Regions from separate parts of the Homo sapiens genome. Here region 1 is linked to region 2. The links are contacts of gene promoters, found by promoter capture Hi-C in blood cells and fetal thymus (Javierre and others, 2016). All regions are on one chromosome and are shown on one strand. The core of a region is centred on a gene start or on the middle of the fragment in contact, and the rest is flanking DNA. Distances in the headings are between cores, read along the strand shown.

Evidence for each region. The method cuts DNA at HindIII sites, captures the fragments that hold promoters and counts their contacts. A CHiCAGO score of 5 or more calls a contact.
Region 1: a contact is called between a fragment that was not itself captured here and the fragment with the promoter of BUB1B-PAK6 in region 2, in 4 of 17 cell types (naive B cells, total B cells, naive CD4 T cells and 1 more). The highest score is 13.6, in naive B cells.

What each region holds. Positions count from the first base shown.
Region 1 is chr15:39,798,615-39,802,803 of GRCh38, forward strand. It overlaps GPR176 (G protein-coupled receptor 176), which reads right to left. Exons shown (of 3, transcript NM_007223.3): 3 at 394-3,640. The coding sequence ends at 2,518. Among named protein-coding and RNA genes, the nearest start is that of FSIP1, 18 kb to the left of the region's middle. The HindIII fragment of the contact is 2,359 bases long and covers 1,708-4,066 here.
Region 2 is chr15:40,214,956-40,218,686 of GRCh38, forward strand. BUB1B-PAK6 (BUB1B-PAK6 readthrough) reads left to right here and starts at 2,473. Exons shown (of 10, transcript NM_001128629.3): 1 at 2,473-2,712. BUB1B (BUB1 mitotic checkpoint serine/threonine kinase B) reads left to right here. Exons shown (of 23, transcript NM_001211.6): 21 at 2,541-2,712; 22 at 3,501-3,607. The region is part of intron 1 of LOC107984763 (a long non-coding RNA gene); the gene reads right to left. The HindIII fragment of the contact is 293 bases long and covers 2,284-2,576 here.

The sequences.
Region 1 (4,189 bases), core at 1,637-4,136, 420 kb before region 2:
CAGTGTGGGGCCAGGATTTAAACACAGGCAATCTGACCTCAAAGCTCATGGCCCTAACTGCTGTGCTCCTGACCTCCCGCAGGAGGGATGATGACGGCTGCACTCCAGGCTTCCCTTGTGTAGCTCCGCCTAGAGATTTGGGTGTCTATCGCCAATTCAATCTGGAACCCATCTTGGTGATATTTTTTCAACTGTTGCAGTTCCTCCTTAGGGAATTTATTTTCTTTTAGTTGCAACAACACAAGAAAATGCTACTGAAATGCCACATCTGCATTCATGAGAAAAAAAAAATGAATATCTTTCATCAGAGACCATGTAGGAAGAGACAGGTTCCAACAGTATATCACTTGAGGGAGAGAAAAGGGGGAGAAAATATAGCTCATAAAACTTTTCTTGAGTTCAGAAACTGCTTTTCAATTTTTTATTAAAATGTTATTCTTCAAAGAGTATAGAAATACACCTGGCAATGACCTGTTAGTAGTCAGCCATCTGCTTCAAACATATATAAGAAACATACCCAACCAGATTCTGCCTCATCAAAATTTATTAAGTTGTACATATACAGTATATTATCAGAACAACACCAAAGTGGCTACACTTGACAGATTCTCCTAAAGTGGACATAATTTTCCTAGAGATTATTATTCCCCTTGATAAAAGTTGTAATGATTGTGAAAGCTTTGAAAGACAAGCTTGAAGGGCCACAGCATTGACTATCAGGGCAAGGAGCTATAGATGCCATGCACGCAGGGCCCAGAAGGCAGCAGAGCCGCAGGAGGCTGTGGCAGCCCCGTTTCTGCTGTGAGCAAACAGTGCTATGAGGAGACCAACACAAAGAGGAAGGTGCTTCCTCTCCAGGGGTAGGGTCTTTGGGTTCACATTCAGAAACACAAGACACCACACCCAAGAGAAGAAAGGAAAACAAAACTCCCTACAGGGTCTGGGCTCCCTCCAAGAGACGGGGCCAGTGTGGCCAAAAGAGGGCACGAGTTGAGATGTGGAAGTTTGCTGGTGAGGACACCCACTTCCCTTCAAGCTTGCTCAAGGCACCAGACTAGCTCCTGTAAGTACCAAGAGCAAGAACACAACACTCTAGAGAAAAGGGCAGAGCTGGCGCTTGGTTTGTCCTCACTAACAGGGAAGTATTATCTGCGGTTCTAATTCAACCTGGTGAAATCCACCCCAGAGGGGTCCCAAATTGCTTGTGAGGCTGATGAGTTGAGGACACTGCCCTCCCTCTTCTACCCAGTCTGGCTCTACAACGACAGGGAAGGAGGAAGTGAAGAGCTCATCTGGGTCAGATGTTGCCTTGGCACTCTACAATGATTATTTCTCCCTGTTCTGTTCCTCCTCTGTGTCCAAAATTAAGAGAGAACCGCAGCTGTACAAACAGACTGAAAAGGAGACTGGCCACACCTGAGTTCCGGAGTCTTCCTCGGAAGGAAACCATCTTTGTCAGATTCTTGCCAACCTTTTGGGCAGAGTCACCTTTCCAAATCAGGCCTTTTCAGTTTGATGTTTCCAAAGGACCCAGCTTACACTAACTCTCCATTTTAAAAATACCTTTTAATTCCTAAAGTTTGCATAAGATGATTTTTTCAATATATTTGACTCATACTGGTTGTTACATAGCACCTTTCATGTGAGATCATAGGGAAGAAAAAAAAACTACAGCGCCATAGGCATCTCTCAGGCATCTCCCCCGTAAGCTTCTCTCTCATTTGTTGAGAAAACACAATTTAAGGTGAAAGACAGAGCGAAGACTTTTCAGTGTTTTCCAGCCAACACTGACCCTGACTGGAGGGTGCAGGTGTATCTCTCTGAGGCGTTGGTGATGCCAAGGGAAAATCAGAATTATCAAGGACAAAATATCTCCCTTACTCCCGGGCACATCTATCGCCATGTGTACCATAGGTGAGGAATCGTCATTCCTTACCTACATCCCAATGAAAGGGACGAAGGGTATCAGGAGAAACAGTGAGTCATATGACTGGGGCTTCCAGAGAAACAGTGTAAGACACCAAATCCCTACCTTCTCAACAGAAAATGTTTGACATGTTTAAGTTCATCAAACAGGCATTTTCTCTGGAGCCACCATGCTCCATCATGATCTTGGAATTCCCTTAGAGTGCTCCTGCTCCCTGCTCCTGTGAGCTCTGAAAGTCTTCTCTCTGTGTGTTCTCTGCAGAGCCCAGGGAAGTGAGGCATCCTCAGAAAGTGCACATGGGGTACCCACCTCAAGACCCATTCAAAACTGCCCAGCTCTTGTCCCCACAGAGAATAATGTGGACTTCACTAAGGACATGGATCACTGAGATGGATACATATACTCCCTCAATAAAGAGGACACTGGATTTTATGTAGATTTCCCTATCATTCAAAAGCATCTGGCCCATATTGGAGGAATCAACTCACACTGAGTTGCAAGGAGATCATACAATCACATGGCCACAGCATTCCCACACTCTGGTGGGAATATGGAAGCTCCCCGTTGCTTCCAAGAATTTACAATCCTTGCTAGGAATCCACCTTTGGAAAAATGCTCACTTTATTGTTTCTGCTCATCTTCCGCTCCACCCTGCCTACCTTGGGCACCTTTGTCTGGATCAGCTCTTCTGGGGTGTTGCCCAAGGGGGGAAGCAGCCGCTTCTTGCTGTTTCGGGTCTCTGAGAGCCACTGAGGAGGCAACTCAAAAGGCCCAAAGCCAAACTGCAGGGAATACTTATCAGGGAATGTTTCAGGTTCCACAGGGGCTGCCGGTGCCACCTGGGATACAGAGTCCACTGTGCTCAGGGGTGGGGCAGAGGGCGCAAACTGTGGCCCCTGCTCTCCCTCCAGGCAGGTGCTAAATATCTCCTTGGCCTGGAAGTCAGCTGAGCCAATGTACTTGGCCTCACTCTCTTCCTCATCCTCTGTGGGCTTAAAGATCTGCTGCTGCCCAATGTGGAACATCTCCAGGAGCTGGCTACCCGAGCGTATGCTGGGTTCCAGGCTGGCCTCAGCCATGCCACTCCCTGTACTGACCACATTACGGCGACTGTACCGGTGGTGTAGTTGCACCAGGGTCCCTATCAAGCACTTGCGGACAGATTTGTTCACAGTAAGAAAGAGAACAGGGTTTGCCAGCAGGGAGACTTTGGGCAGCCAAACAGCAGTGAGCAGCAAGAAGACGGAAGTGTCAGGGACATTGAGCACAGTCTGGTAGACGACCAGGGTGGCATAGGGCACGCTACACAAGATGAAGACCATCACCATGGAGAGCAGGGTGGCGTGCAGCTCGGCCTCCCGCTGGGAGGCATAGGGAATAGAGATGGTGTTCTGTGGGGTCCGGAGCGCTGCTATGATGACCTTCTTCTTCTGGCTGGCACTCAGGGCCCGTCGGATCAGTATCAAGAAGAGGAACACCACCACCACAGGCACAATGACCGTGGTGATGTTATACACCAGAACGTACACCAGGTGGCCCAAGGAGTTGCTCCAGACTTCCGTGCAGGTGGACGTGGCATAGATGTCAGCCACATTGGTTACTGCAAACACAGGGACACTGGCCACCACTGCATGGGCCCAGATGTACATCACCAGTTCACGGGACTTGGCATCAGATATTTTCCTCTCCAGTGGATAGAGGACTGAGTAGTACCTGCAAGATACACAAACAAAATTAATTCCACAGAAGATACTTTTTAAATTAGGGGAACCTAAATCACCAAAAGTAGATGAGAGGGAAGAAAGGTCAAGTTCTTCTATTCGGCCTAAGACAGAAAAGCACTGGGGGAATCCAGGAAGCCAGACCTAAGTTTTGAGGACTTTGCAAGTACAATAAGAAGCGTCACTAGACCAAAAAATAAAAACCTTTCCAAAGGAGCAGCAAACCTGTCCTCATGAGGCTTTACAGGAAAACAAGTAAATAATTTCAATTCATAGCTAGCTTTATAATTATTGCTACCAGGATGAAATCGCAAACAGTACCCTCCATATAAAAGATTTCTCCATCTGCTATAAAGATATCTACTTTTCAATTTGAGGGTAAAGGGTAATTGGTAAACAATTTTATATGGGCTAAAGAAGCTTTAGGGCAATTTTCAAAGCTACCAACAGAAATAAGTTTGTCTACACACATATCTAAAGCAGACTTATGCCACAGTCCAGATATCATTAACAATTAAAGTTGTTCAGGGCAGAAGAACCA
Region 2 (3,731 bases), core at 1,223-3,722:
ATGACAGTGCTGAAATTCCCAGGGCTATGGAAATTGGAAGCAGAGGTTTTTTCTAAGCCTTTTAGAATTGGCCATTTGTGGTCTAATGAAGTACGATAACCCTTCTCTCAGCCACTAGAGGCTCTAGGAAAGTCCATAGTATTAAAGAGGCATTGCTTTTTACTTTGTCACTGCTTATCAAATTTAATCAGAAATTTCACATAGATTCATAAGGAATTAAAAGCCAGAAAGGGGCCGAGCACAGTGGCTCATGCCTATAATCAATCCCAGCACTTTTGGAGGCTGAGGCGGGCAGATCACCTGAGGTTGGGAGTTCAAGACCAGCCTGACCAACATGGAGAAACCCCATCCTACTAAAAATACAAAATTAGCCAGGTATGGTGGTGCATGCCTGTAATCCCAGCTACTTGGGAGGCTGAGGAAGGAGAATTGCTTGAACTCAGGAGGCAGAGGTTGTGGTGAACTGAGATCGCACCATTGTACTCCAGTCTGGGCAACAAGAGCAAAATTCTGTCTCAAAAAAAAAGCCAGAGGCCGGGCGCAGTAGCTCACGCCTGTAATCCCAGCATTTTGGGAGGCCGAGGCGGGCGGATCACGAGGTCAGGAGATCAAGACCATCCTGGCTAACACAGTGAAACCCTGTCTCTACTAAAAATACAACAAGATAGCCAGCCGTGGTGGCAGGTGCCTGTAGTCCCAGCTACTCAGGAGGCTGAGGCAGGAGAATGGCGTGAACCCGGGAGGCAGAGCTTGCAGTGAGCCAAGATCATGCCACTGCACTCCAGCCTGGGTGACAGAGCGAGACTCCATCTCAAAACAAAACAACAACAAAAGCCAGAAAGGGCTGGATGCAGTGGTTCACATCTGCAATCCCAGCACTTTGGGAGGCAGAGGCAGGAGGATCTCTTGAGGCCAGGAGTTCAAGACCAGCCTGGTCAACATAGCAAGACCCTGTCTCTACAAAAATAAAATAAAAGCCAGAAAGAACCTTTTGAAATTGCTTAGTTTAGTTGCTTACTTTAGTTTCTGCATATTTTTTGTGAGGAAAATGAGATCCAAAAAAATGGAATGTCCTACCCAAAGTAACAGTGAGTGAGTAGCTGATTAGAGGGCTAGGACACCTTCATGCATGCTTCTTTTTATTAATCTATGAGACATTTTTTCCCTATGCCTCCAAAGTTATATAAATATTTTACAATTACACTGGGCATGGTGACTCACATCTGTAATCCCAGCACTTTGGGAGACCAAGGCAGAGGATCACTTGAGCCTAGGAGTTCAAGACCAGTCTGGGCAATATAATGAGACCTCATCTCTACAAAAAATTAAGAAATTAGCCAGGCATGGTGGCACACACCAGTAGTCCCAGCTACTCGGGAGGCTGAGATGGGAGGATCGCTTGAACCTAGGAGGCAGAGACTGCACTGAGCTGAGATCGCACCACTGTACTCCAGCCTCAGTGACAAGAGTGTAGACCTTGTCTAAGAAACCAAACAAAACACACACATGCACACACTTTACATATATATATAAAATACATATGTATATTTTATATATATCAGAATCCACGATCCCTATAACTATATATATACTATATATATATATATATATATATATTTTTTTTTTTTTTTAATTATAGTATAGTTTTATGGTGGCCAAAAAAGGTTGGCTCTTGTGCCAAGGAAAAATGAGAGCAATTATCAATTTTAAAGTAAAATACATAGATCATTCTGTGCCGTGGAGGTATGTAATTGGAGTAGTTAAAGACTGTATTTAGGAATATTGCACCAATATCAGGAGTTTGAGGGAATTAATTGAGAAAAACAGACAAAAGGAACACATGAAAACCCACTCTTTTCATTTATAAACAGTTCCTATGTCCCCTTGGAGAATAGCATTATTGCATAGGATAGATAAACCCAAGGAAAACAAAATTAATTGATAATTAATTAGTATTATAAAGATTTTTTTAGTAAATAACTGGAATTACAAGTAAGAGTAAGATAAAATATGGTGTTTTACAAGAAATTTTACAATACAGATAGGACTTTATAAAACAGACTTGCATTGTTTTCCATTAAACTCTGGAAGGAAGAATCTAAACAATACTTGGAAAGCCTATCTGGAATAGTAAACAAGAAAGGCTATGACACCTATAAAATTTTAATTTCCTCCATCATAATTCCTGTCAGTGTATAAATCATTGCAATTGTATGTGTTAATGTGTACAGTACAGGGAAGAAGCCTGTGCTCTGCTTCCATACTTACTTTATATAATATGGAAGCTTGATAAATGTTTAATGGTGGCCATGCACCGTGATTGAAATATACTTTGTGTCACCAAAGTGGTGACATTCCTTCCGCATTGGGTGGACACTGCCACTGCTCTGTCTTACAGGTGCATTTTCAAAATTAACCACTGGAGGGAGTTGTTGGCATAGCTAAGATGTACCCAAGGTACCTTTTTTTTTTAAAGACCAGCTATGCAGCTTCTTTCATGGCCTATTTTTATTATCTCCTTCTCTTAAATCTGGGCTCAGAATCCACGATCCCTATGATTGTAACAAGAACAATCAAGCTTTGAAGATAGTGGACTTTTCCTACAGTGTTGACCTTAGGGTGCAGCTGGATGTTTTTACCCTCAGCGGCTTTCGGACTGTACAGATCCTGGAAGGACAAAAGATCCTGGCTAACTGTTCTTCTCCCTACCAGGTAAGTGTAAAACAAGCCTGAGCAAATATGGAGAGGGTTTCTTAATCTCTTTATTATCTAGATAAGCTATAAAAGCTACTGTTTACTGATACCGACTCCTAGAATAGATGACCTAGTTTTCAAATATCACCAAGTCAAGTAAAATGTAACATTTTTGTGTTACAGCATTGAAGAATATACACATACATGTGCAAACACATGACTAACTCTGTAACCGAGTGCCAGGGCCACTCCTACTGCCTACCACCCATGTAATCTTTTATAAGTCATTTTCTGTGATCTTCTCTGTAAAATAGGGATAACAGTCTCTGCTATGTGTTTATCAGAATTGTTATGAGGAGTAAATGAAGTAATGTATATAAAAAGAACATTAGCACAAATGTAAAGTCTTTTGTATGGTGGCATTATATGCAGAAATTCCTTCTAACTCAGCTTTAGACATAAGACATTTGCTGATTGAATATGTAGCACAAACCTGAACTAATCATGTGGACCCCATTTAGATCACAGCTGGAGTTCATGCAAACTCAGTAGGTCTACAAATTTGAATGTGATAGTCCAAATATTTCATCTTTTGTTCTTAAGGATAATTCCTAGAATTGGCTCTATTGATCACTTCTTTGGAGAGCTTCTCCCTTTACTGTAAGGGTGAGGAACAGTCTACTAAAATGTATGTCATAAAATAAACTTAGTTAAGCACTGTAATACCTTTCAACTTCCTACCGAAATAAGCTGCCATGGTAGAGGCAGAGAATTATTTTAGCTGATGGTGCTTTTTGTGATTTCAGGTAGACCTGTTTGGTATAGCAGATTTAGCACATTTACTATTGTTCAAGGAACACCTACAGGTCTTCTGGGATGGGTCCTTCTGGAAACTTAGCCAAAATATTTCTGAGTAAGTATTGATGAATGTCAGGGTCTCTGCCTGTCCCAATAATTTTCTGTTTCTCTTGGGTGCTATCTCTGCTTTGGCAGCCTTAGTTTTTTAATCCAAATGCCATGGTTCCAGTAGTTTCAGC